Regions from separate parts of the Homo sapiens genome. Here region 2 is linked to region 1. The links are contacts of gene promoters, found by promoter capture Hi-C in human tissues and cell types (Jung and others, 2019). All regions are on one chromosome and are shown on one strand. Each heading gives the region's core, a stretch centred on a gene start or on the middle of the fragment in contact. The rest is flanking DNA. Distances are from core to core; before and after follow the strand shown. Region 1 holds the start of TFAP2B (transcription factor AP-2 beta). Region 2 has its middle 150 kb from the start of TFAP2B.

Region 1 (6,412 bases), core at 513-3,012:
GGAGGCCGAACCGAAACAATCCCCACCAGGCGCGTAGGCGCGGCTCTTCGTTACAGTCGATACACAACCACAAAGAGAAAAGGAAAACCCCAAGCATCATTCAGCAACAAGACCAATCTCTCTCCTCTCTGCTCTCTCGCGCTCTCTCCTGCTTTTCTCCCTCTCCTCTCTTATCTCCTCCTCCTCTCTCCTACATACCTCCACACATACACACACCCCAACATTAGGATTCGGGGGGGGGCAGGAGGTGTGGGCGCCAGGCGCTGCCTGTGGGCGCTCGTCCGAGCCCGAGTCCCCCAGGAGCTTGCCGGCCGCGCCTGTGAGTCGCCCACTCTTAGGATCTTCGAGGCGGCTCTGCGCCGGGCTTTCAGGAGCTGTCCCGATCCGGAGGGGTCGCGTGTCTTTCTCGGCTCTTTGGGGAGCCTCTGCATCCCTCCACCTTTCGTCTGACCTAGCGGCCCGCGCCCGCCACCCGGGAGTCTGCTTCTCTTCCTTCCTTTTCTCTCCAACTTTTCCTCTTAGCAATCTCCATGGCCCGCTTCGCCCGCCTCGACTTCCCTCCTTTTCTAAATCCGCTTCGCCTTTCCGAAGTTTTTATTTCCAACCTCGACGTCTCAGCAGAACCTTCCCTTCCTCCCTTCCCCTGGCAACCACCTGGGGCTGTCCCAGACCATTCCGCTTAAAAGCGAGGCTCCGCGGGCTTCCCGGTCCCCAGCCTGGCCCGCCGCGCGCCCCGCGCCTCGCCCGCCTCGGCCGCCTCTCCCACCTCGCCCGCCTCTCCCACCTCGCCCGCCTCGGCCGCCTCGTCCGCCTAGTCCGCCTCGCCCGCGAGTAGCGGAGCCGTCTGGCCGCGTCAGCCCTCGCCCGAGCCGGAAAAGGGCTTTGGCGAGCGCGGTCCGGGCCCCGGAGGCGGCTGGCGTCCTCCTGGCTGGGCGCAACTTCTCCTGCCCCGAAGAGTTGAGCTAGCCTCAGTGCTAGAGACCCGTACGCATTGAACGTGGGCAGAAATTTCCGTGAAAGATGCCCACACAGGAGGCGGCTGCGATTTCTGTTCGGACGCAGTGACCCTCAAGGAAGCAAAACACAAGAAAACAGAAACTAATAAACTGCTACGACTTCTATTTTGCTCTATCCATCCATATCTCCAGCCATCTACTTCTTTCCCGCTAATTCTCTGTCCTCTACTTGGAACCATTTGTTATCAATTTCAGAAATTTTATTGAAAATAAAAATTAAAAGCCCGAGTCTGTTACAAATGAGGCTTGAAAACCCAATTCTCTTCCACACTTAAAACGAGAAAAGCCCCTGACTTTATCAGAATCTCGATTTTCTCTGAGAGCGTGCCCACATTCAGTAGCACCACATTCCCCATCAGAGCTTAAAAGGGTGGGGTGGGGTGGGGGGAGGCGAGGAAAAGGGAAAGAAAAATAAAATAAATAAAAACATTCCTAAATTAAAGTTGTCAGATTTCAGCCTTAAAGTCCCTTTTCAGAGCAGCGAAGTCTTCCCTAGCCAGCTTTTCTAAAAGTTAAAAAAAGCTGAGAAAACCGACCGGAAATCTACGAGTAAATAGCTTAAAAATATATATCATTTGGGGTATCAAGAAGCTCAAATTCTCTATCTGCAAAGCTCTAAGGTGCATCTGGGGGTGTCGACTCACCTCATAGATATCTTCGTACTTGACATTCTCCACAAGCTTCCAGAGCATGATGGCAGCCTGGTCTCTAGGAGGTGAGTGCATTCATGTGAGGAGCAGATGTCTGGCTTCTCAGGACTCCGCTGTCTGTAATGATCCATCTATAATTGGAAATGGGGGATACACACCAAATCCGACGCTCCTCTCCCATCGCAACTTATATCTGTTGTCTCAAACAATAGGCTGGACAAGTAAGCCTCAGCAAAGAGAAAAAACATTATTGCACACACAGGAGTTAGATGCAACCCACAGACATATATACTATAAAAATCATAAACCCGTATTTACACCCAGACACCCACATATAGTTATATAAGCACCTCTGGGTCACACAGTCTGCAGACTCCAAATGTGCATTTAACAAAGAGTTGTTCAGGGTGATTAATATAATATATACATTTTATAACTTCTATATCGAAAATGACACATCATTGTAGCCACTAACTGAAGTCTTTGCAATTCATAATGAGAAACCAGGGGCCATCAGTCCCCTATTTTCTATGTAGATTTTAAAGGGGGACACTTACCAAGATTTTTAAACACAAAAGCTCCCTCCTATTCATGTATGTTCCGGAAGAGAGTATTTTGAAAGGCTGGATATGGGGGATTTTAAGGACTATCTCTGTGTTGATGGCTACACAACTTTTTTTTTTTTAACTTTATCTCTGTCACCATAGAACAAAAAAGCTAGCCACCGTTGATGACCATTTCTAATATTTTCTGGTCATTTTACCTAAAACCTTTGGAAACTTAAATACACCTCAGTTTGTGCTGCTTGTTATTTTAGGTGTTGTTTGTATGCATTTTCAACGGATTCCATGCACCATTCCTCTTGGCTGGAGTCTCCATTTTATCAAGTTTTTTTCAGATGTTGGAAGCAACGTACGCACACGTTCAGACAAGGTTAATTTTGAGCCTTTTTTGCAGAGGCCAAGGACATTTTATATTTGCATCTGTTGTGTATGACTTGTAAGTGGTTTTAATCATGGAGAGTCAAGAAAGGGCCACCCGAATCTTTGAAAAGGTTTAAGCAGAATGTCTTCAAAGAGATAGTGAAAAATATTTTAGTGCATGTGGAGTTTCTTCTTTTTTTTGTATAATTTTTCTTAATAAGATGATTCATATAGTTTTTAAAAAGGAAAACATCATCAGCAACAAGAACAATATTAACCAGACTTAGAAAATGGGCACCATTTAAGGCGCAGGGATTCTGAATTTTATCATGAAATGAATACTCATCTGTTCCCCTGTTCCCCCTTTCCCATCCCCTCTGTTTTTCTACTCCCTTTCAGGGTGCGGAGAGCTTCTCATAGCCGGAACAGACGCCCAGAAGAGGATCTCTGCGCCTGGGACAGAAAAGAAATGCCAGGAGGGACCGAGGAGGGATGGGGCAATTTGGGGTGGAAGTTATTAAGCCTGGTGAGAGTGAATCTGCAAAGGGTGATTGTCTTTAAATCCAGGACTGCTGTGTGCAGCTCTGCGCGAACAGGGATGGACGCTGTTTGAGTACAGGGCTCCGGACAACCTTGTTGGACGTCGATTCAATCAAAACCAAGGAGAAGCTTCATGAACTGCAGAATAAACAATTCTGCAGATTTTTAATTTAATTTTTAAAGATAAGTCAAAGGAAAAGAACACAAAGAAGGTGCTTCAGAAGGAACTTCAGAAATAAACCCCTTATTTCCGGTTGAATTTTTTATGTTTCGTCTTTCCTTTTCTCCTCTTCCTCCTTTTTGTTTTCCTTTTTTCTTTCCTTCATTTCCCTTTTCGTTCCTTCCTTTCTCTCTCCATTCCTTTCTTCCCCTTTAAATGTTAACCTTAAATCATACACAATCTATACAGATTTTTCACTAGGAGCATCAGCAAAGATTTTCTTCTTTGCTTCCAGAGCTAGTTAGGAGATGAGAAGGGATTTTTCTTAATCTTATTGTGTGGTGGGACTTGAAACGGGTTCCACACCCCCTGACTTCTAGAACTAAAATCAGTGCCAGATCAATAATCTGAAAGATAAATATTATAGACTTGGAAGTTCAGATTCTCCAGGCACAAGACATTTAATTAATGGAAATAATTGTTTTCTCCCTTTCAAATCAATAATTCTGTCATTGTTATTACCTAAAGATCATTACAACCCAAATAAAATGCATTTGGAAAAATCTCACTTTTTTTCTCTAAATGCTTTTAACACCTTTTAATATCTTTTTGGTATATTATTGCCTAGTCTAAAATAAATAAACTCTGAGATTTAACAAAACAAAACCTGCAAGAGATAATTTTACACATAAATTAAAATAATATAAGGTATTGTGTTAGTATAACTATTTTATAGCCTTATATATGAATAATTTCAAACTTTTTATGTGTAATTTTATTTTATGCTAGTATTAGGTATTTTTTAAAGTGGAAATATCTTGAGATATTTGGTTAAAATTTAAGTTCTTTAGGAAACCTGAAAAATAACAAATCTGGTTTTATTAAGAATGAAGCATAAACCTAAAAATATACACATATATATAGAGAAATACCTTCAAAATACATAACCATAATTAAAATCCTAGTTATTTTTTTTAACGTGGGCGTTATTCGAAAAGTCCTAGACATTGCAAGGTAAACCGTTCCCACGGACCGTTCCCTGTCATTGAACGGGCAACAGCGCCCTCTGTCGGAATTTTATAGACGCAAACCCTGCAAGTCTCCTTGATTTCTTTTTCGGCAAAGGTTTCTTTCCGTTCTTGAAAACCTGGTATTGAGAGGAACATTTTTAAAGTTCACTTCTTATGATATTTACTAATTTTAGAAACGATCGTTCCAGCATCTAAAAAGTTCAAACGCCCGAAGAAACGCACAATAAAAGCTCAGCCGCTACGGAGAAAATTTTTCCTAACTTGAACCTACCTCTCTTGCTTTTACTTTCTATTACCTTTCGCGTTATCACTCAATCACATGACGTAGGGAAACTATTCCCGCAAGAACTCAGTAAATGGAAACACAAAGGCAAAACAAACTCTGGATTTGAAGGAAATTAAACGAGTAAAATATGCATTTTCCTCGTTATTTTATCTTGCCTTATGTCCATATTTCTTTTTCAGGTTACGCACATGCTCTCCTAGGTGGAACCGCACTTGAGACATCCCAGATAGTTAACACTCGTACTTTCCTCTTTCATTTGCATTTATTTCAGTTTAAAACAGCAAAGAAAAGAATTATTCATACCCTCTTTTTTTTTCAGCCTCATATAGAGGGAATATTATTCAGTAAATGTCGGAGTCTATAATTAAAAGCAAATGCACCCAGCATGAAGCCCTCTGCTGGTGATTTTCGAAGTATGTTCAGGACTGTTTTTTAAAAAATGTACAGAAAAATATCATTATTAAATCAAGGTCAACTAGGAGCACTTTCATGTCTTCTTTCATCTTTCTTCTAAAAATCTAATTATGAATTATCTAAATTTATTTGACTTCCTTCCTTCCACTAGCCCTCACCTTTGCACCTGTGGGTTAACACTCCATGAACTATCTTCCTTTGCAGATGCCCACTGTACCACCTTTTCTTTTTCCATTACACAGTCTCCCTGGGTTTCCCCTTTCCATCTACCCAACGCACAAAAATAATAAAATTAGAAAAGTCAAGAATTAGAATTATTGTGCCAAGTTTGCACCCTGGCCTTTCTCATTCTAGGCGGTGGGGCAGGCTATTTAATAGCCTGAGGTTCAGTGCACTGAACTACAAAATGGAAATGATTGTGAAAATTTATTAAAATAGTATCTGTGGGTAAATATATGTGGTACTATTGCTTCATAAACAATTTAACTTATCATCATTGTCTCAAAACACTTAGCGGGGGGTCAGGAAAGTGGAGGCTTCTAAAAACCAGGGATTTGCAATAAACTCCTGGTTAGAAAGTGGAGGTGGGAAACCCAATATAGGTCTTCAGACTGTGTACTCAACGCTTTGCCCACAGTCTCATGATGCTGTCTTACTTCTTTCCTTCTGAAGTTAAGAAGACAGTATTTTTGGATCATTGAGTATGTCCAGGGTTATTTTTTATAGTCCTGGATTTATAAGTAGGCAAAGGAAAGAAGAGAGGAAGGAAAAACTGTCTTACTTCAGCATCCTCAGATATTGCCCCACCTCTTACCCATCAGAAGCATTATTGTCTGCTGAGTTGAATAATAAGACACGACATCCATATAACAGATCTTGATAAGTTAAAAAATGATAAAACATGACAGCTCCATTTTTTACTGTTGCAGTCTGGCTCCTAATTTTCCTACCATGTTTCTGTCTTAAGCTTTCTCATGATTATATTTTTGGGGAAGATTCAGTAGGTGTTTTTATCATCAATTTGGAAACAAAATACTGTTGAATGTCTGAAACTACAATTTAAGCACCTGCCTTCAGATTTCTAGGGCTTTGATACCATATAGGTTTCAGTGACTTGGTATGAGGAAACAAAATAGGAGGGACTAATGTTTGCACAGGAGTGTTTTTAAAAAATGAAATGTGGGTGGGGTTATCTTTAGACTGACTCTTCATAATTATCGAGATTGAGGCAAGCACTAAACAGGAAAGAGCATTTCTTACTTTAATCATAATATTTAGTTGATGGTACATTTGTAAATTTGTAAAAGATACTGAGTTGAAATCACTTGTGAGAATAAAAATAACTGTAACTGTGAAAACTCACCCTTTCCCTGGGACTTTTGAGGAGCAATA
Region 2 (5,838 bases), core at 820-3,319, 150 kb before region 1:
TAGATACTGATGCAGTCAATCTAAAGATGATAATTTTTAAATGCCTTTGGTTTTAGGGTTGGTTTATTTCATGTGGTCATTTTCACCTAATTAAATGATATTCAGTTCAAAATTACATAGAAACAACTAAAAAGACCTTAGGGGAAACAGGTTCTTCTGGATGAAAAATCAAATTTAGACACCAATAAATTCAATTCAATGAAAAATGGAAACCACAAACCAGACTGCCTGGTTGCATTGCATGTATGCTAATGTGCCATGCATTTCTGATGCATTAGTACAAAATGTTCTGTATATTTCATATGTGAAACCATGTCTTAGAAATAAAGAAATAGAATGAAATAATAAATGGCAAATGGTCACTGTTAATCTTTGACTTATTTTTAAAGCATGGTACTACTTGGTAGATCAAGTAATACCCATAATGTTAGAAAAACAAAGTTATTGTTTTATGGATGTCCTTTGTTTAGAGAAGTCCAGCTATTTCAATATATGTCTCTTTGGCCATAATACTCTATAAAAGAGAAGACGGAAAGAAATACAAAGAGAGAACAAGAAGGGATCTGAAGAGAGAGACTGGGAAAGGGAACAGTACATGGGAATATTTTTGCTTCCAGCTATGGACAAGTGCCACACTTTCTCCTAATAACCTTGACCTGCTTTTCCTGGCTCAGCAGTAGCAGCTGTGCCACATCGGCTTAGCATCTGCTTATCAATCTAACTGTGCAAACCTGACTCCCGCTTCCAGTGTCCTTAGCACTGAGGATATCACAGTGACCAGGTTGACTGAGCAGCCTGCAGAATGTAGGAAACAATCAGTTCTTAGGAGGAGGAGGGCAGGACAAGGTGTGGAGAAATTACCAGAACATGGTCTCTTTATTGTCCAATGATCATAAGGAGAAAGAATATTTGTTGGGCAGCACATGGGACAGGTTGTCCTAAAGTTGCAGAATTAATGGGTTGTTGAATCTTAAAAAGAAAAATGCCATTCCATCACACACCTCAGTAAATATGTAACGGTGTGTGAAAGCTCTGGGAGCATTGCTGCACTGATGCTTCGCCATGATATTCATATCTTCTCAGCCAAAAACGGAGACACCAGGAGCAGTATGAGAATACAAAGCAGAGCGATGGTGGTTAAGAGTTTGGCCTTCTTGTCAGGCTTCCATGTTTAAAATTCTGACTTCACCACTGACCAGCTTTGGGCAAAATACTTAAGCTCAATAGGACCCTTATGTTCTTGTGAGGATTAAAATAGGTAAAGAATAGAGAAGTATAGAGCCTGACACAAATGATACAATGGACTTTGGGAACTTAGGGGAAAAGGTGGGAGTGGAGTGAGGAATAAGAATACACATTAGATACAGTGTACACTGCTCGGGTGATGGTGATGGGTGCACCAAAATCTCAGAAATCACCACGAGTGAACTTATCCATGTAACCCAAAACCACCTGCTCCCCAAAAACCTATTAAAATAAAAAAAATTATATAGAGACTGGTTTCTGGTATGCAACCAATAAATATGTAGTATGAGAAATATGAGTGTATTTATAGAAACAAAATAATATTAAAAGCTAAGATAAGTCAGACTGTAGAAACGAGGCCTGTCCTCAAAACAAGTGTGTTTGTATAGTGCAGATAGATAGCATGAATTTGACCACAATAAGGCTCAGTGTGTGATGGCTCCTTGTCAGAGGATTTCTTCTGATCTGGGCCCATCTCAATAGCCCAGCCTGAAGTATCCTCCAGTAGTCATCGAGTCAACAAATGTTTAGTGAGTCCATCTGAATCTGTTCTTATAACTTAGGAGCAGTTCTAGACACTGGGGACACAGCAGTGAAGAAGAGTGTTAAAGTCCCTCCCTCACAGAGCTAATATTCTAGAAGGAGAAATAGAAAAAGATAAATATATTAAGAGATATATAAAGTCAGGGTGTGGTAACTGCTGTGAAGAGAAAGCAGGAAAGGAGATAGTGAGGGATAGGGCTATGGTTTGTAGTTAGTGTGGTTGATTGTCCTTGAGGAGGTGATACTTGCAGATATCTGAAAGAAGTGAAGATGGGAGTAGGGCAATTATCCTGGGATATTTCCAGGCAAAAGATCAGCAATAGGAAAGACTGAAGCCAAGTGTGTTTGGCAACCCAAGGGAAAGCAGGTCAGTGTGCCTGGAGCAGACTGAGTGAGGGAGAGAAATCAGGAGATATAATTAGAGAATTGGCCAGTGGCCCATCATGTAGGTCATCAGATGCCATAGTAAGGAGTTTGGAATACCTAAAAATATGCTGAGAAGACATTAGAAAATTTTGAGCAAAGGAATGTCATGATCTGAGTTATGTTTTACAAGGACCCTGACAGCTGCATGGAAAATAGATTATAGCAAGTAAAACCAGTTAGTAATCTTCCCAGATCAGATGATATATGAGTAGCTTTAATAGGATGGCAATGGTGAGATGTGGTCAGATTTGGGATATATTTTGAAAGTGGGGCACACATGATCAGCTGATGGTTTGAATAATGGTATGAAAGAAAAATAAGAATCAATATTGACTCCAAGTTGTTTTTTAACAAAAGCCAGCTGTGTGAATAATATTGTCACATTGAGAAAGCTCAGGAAGTAGTTGGTTTGAGGGTGGAGGGGAATCAAGTTTGGACAAGCTAGGTTTGAGATGCCTATTAAATATCCTGACGGATGTCAAATAAGTAAGATAAATGAAACTGGAGTTCAGGGGAGAGGTCATATCAAAAGATATATTTAGGAGTCAATAGTATATAGTTGGCATTTTAAATGGAGCTGAATGAGATTAACAAGAAAGTGAGTACAGCTGGGGAAAACATCCTAGCATTTAGAGTTGAATGAAGTAGAATCCAACAAAGACTGCAAAGATTTCTTACTTAGGACAAAAAGTGAAGAAAAAAGAGGCTGAAGCTAGGCAACCAGAGGCCCAAGCCATAATCACAGCTGTATCACAGGCTAGTATCAAGGTCTCTTCATTTCCACTTCATAACCTATAAAATGAGGATTATCACCTGTGCCTGTCACACTTTTACCATTGTTGAAAGGCAAAAAAGCTTTCATCTGTGACAAGTCACCAGAGAAATGTTGCAGCACCACTAGCAGGCAAGGAGAAAAAAGTTGTGAACCCAAGAAATATCATACCCTACTGGGAAAATGAAAGACTAGGAGTGATATTGTGCTAATTCCAAAATATGTGCAGTCCATATCTCCATCCCCCAGCTCCCAACTTCTCCTTCCCATCTGCTAAATAATGTCAACTCTAAGCTACAAAATGAATGCCCACAGAAGAGCATTAAAGGAACAAGTCAGAGCAGTGCCAAAGAAGAGAGAAAAGAAAGAAAATACTGGGAAGATTTAAAGAGCAAGGGAAATAGTAGATACTTTCCTTCCTTCCTTCCTTCCTTCCTTCCTTCCTTCCTTCCTTCTCTCCTTCCCTCCTTCCTTCCTTCCTTCCTCCCACGTTCCAATTTTTCTTTCAAGGTGGGGATGTTGCCCAGGCTGCACTTCAACTCCTGAGCTCAGGTGATCCTCCCGCCTCAACCTCCTGAGTAGCTAGGACTACAGGTGCACACCTCTGCAGCTGGCTTTTTAGATATTATTGTGTCCTTCCAGGTTAGGAATTGAAGAAGAAAGAGGAGGAAAAACAAGTAATCTTGGATACTTGCCATTTCCATGAAGGGAGGGAAGCAGCAGGACCCTTTGAGAGAAGATCAATGCTCAGCATCCTGGTAGATAGCAGAGGAATCCCTAATTAGTAATTCAACTGACATTGATTCAAAAGGTTGATTTGCAGGCATCCAAGCCTGGAAAGGAGGAAGTTTGATGTGTTTTCCAAATTGGCAGTGAAAGAATAATTTATGTTGGAGATTTGTTGCTGAGCAGAGAAAAGAGATGAGATAGTTGAAAAAATAAATGATGATACCACCCAGAGTTCTAGCTTTCCTTCACTTTTTATAGGAATAAAATAATGAGTAGAAGAGAAGGTATAAACTAGATTAAATATATTCCATATATAAACCATGCCAGAAAAGCAACCATCATTTCTCTTCCCCTTGAACTTTTCATTTAAGCACAGACACACTTTCAGGGACTAATGAGAAGATATAAATGTTGATGAAGAAATCACTTAATAAAATGCCATGAACACAGTTAAATAGTATTTAAAGATTTGGGAGAAGAGGGGTAACTTAAAAACAAATAGAAAGTACATGATAACATAACCAGTACAATTATTGTTAGCATTTGACTTAATTGCTTCTTTAAAAAGAAAAAAAAAAAGGTTTACATATCATCCTCAAGTCCATTGTGTCCTAATGCCCACTGCTAATCCTCTAGCAATAATAGGTATTATTCAGTATTTGTTTTAAATTATTACAAATGTTGTCACACTGTATCTACCATTCTACAACTTGCCTTTTTTATGAAACATTATTTTTTGAGATGCATAAATCTTGATATACAGAGATTTCTTTCACACATTTAATTTTTTCTGACAGTCATGCATTCTTACACTATTTCATGTGATCCTTCCAACTCTAAGTGAGTTAATGAGTTATAACATCTCCACTTTACAGATGAGAGTATTCAAGTTTGCCCAGGGGGTAGATGTAGAACCTTCTGGCTTCCTGGCCAATTCTTCTTCACTGTACCAACTGTTTTCAAGCTTATATTTTCATCTGTAAAATTTTTTTTCAAATATGAAACTTATATAGAATGCTAACATGTAGGAGGCATTCACATTAGAGCTAGAGGCAGAGGTTCTGGGCTGTGCCCTCAGCCTTTCCTACATCCTGCAGTGGCCCTTGAAGCAGCTTCATGAACCTCTAGTTCTCTGTGGCACCTGTTATGGAAGCTGGTGTACTAAAGCAGTGGCCTTTTTGCAAGCACTATGCAGCCAGACGAAAGTTTTAAATACAGAGAACAAAATGCCCATAGCGATTTGGTCAATGAGAGAACTGAACACACTTTTTGTGATGCCATCTATGCAATGCAGTGTAATGGCAAAAGGCGGCTAGCAAATCTTGGCTGGTATCCAGTATGCAGAGGAAAAGCTGTTTAAAAGTCTCCTCAGCTTAGAGTTTGGCCAAAGTAGATTTAAAGAACCTACTTTGTGTAGAAACCCCGTATTGTGAGGAACACAGAAATGCTTGAGATAGATGACAAAAGCAGTGAGCAGACACCAAGGAAAGGGTGGTTCTTGCAGAAGAAAGAAAGGAGAGAACAAACCCTTCAAAAGAAGTGGTTTAGTTCTTGACAGGAAAGAAATAAAGCATTCAGAGAAATTAATAGACAAAAATGAAAGCAAAGACAAATTAAAACAGGTTCTGTATATATGGAGCCAAAGTTTTAGAAGGGGAAAAAGATAAGAAAGGTGGTTTTTTTAAGGTTTTGTTTTGCTTTAGGTAGAATGATCAGGGTCTGAGAAGAAGGAAGGCCTCAAGATAAAATAAATACATTTTCAAAAACATGGGGATATCACTAGGTAAAGAGTAGACATAATGAAAGTAGCAAGCTGGGCATGGTGGCTCACACCTGTAATCCCAGCAATTTGGGAGGCCAATGCAGGTGGATCACAAGGTCAGGGGTTCGAGACCAGCCTGGCCAACATGGGTGAAACCCTGTCTCCGCTAAAAAAATTACAAAAACTAGCCGGGCATGGTGGTGTGTGCCTGTAATCCCAGCTACTTGGGAGGGTGAGGCGGGAGAACTGCTTGAACCCGAGAGGCGGAGGTTGCAGTGAGCCAAGATCACGCCACTGCACTCTAGCCTGGGTGACAGAGCAAGACTCCATCTCAAAAATAAATAAATAAATAATAAAAATT

The links. The method cuts DNA at HindIII sites, captures the fragments that hold promoters and counts their contacts. A contact is called where the count stands out against the background at its distance.
Region 2: a contact is called between a fragment that was not itself captured here and the fragment with the promoter of TFAP2B in region 1, in 1 of the 25 tissues and cell types used here (mesenchymal stem cells).

What each region holds. Positions count from the first base shown.
Region 1 is chr6:50,814,221-50,820,632 of GRCh38, reverse strand. It overlaps TFAP2B (transcription factor AP-2 beta), which reads right to left and starts at 1,762. Exons shown (of 7, transcript NM_003221.4): 1 at 1,661-1,762. The coding sequence starts at 1,741. It overlaps LOC124901490 (a long non-coding RNA gene), which reads left to right and starts at 1,607. Exons shown (of 2, transcript XR_007059923.1): 1 at 1,607-1,731; 2 at 2,989-3,388. The HindIII fragment of the contact is 7,987 bases long and covers 1-4,623 here.
Region 2 is chr6:50,968,561-50,974,398 of GRCh38, reverse strand. No RefSeq gene overlaps it. Among named protein-coding and RNA genes, the nearest start is that of TFAP2B, 150 kb to the right of the region's middle. The HindIII fragment of the contact is 3,610 bases long and covers 265-3,874 here.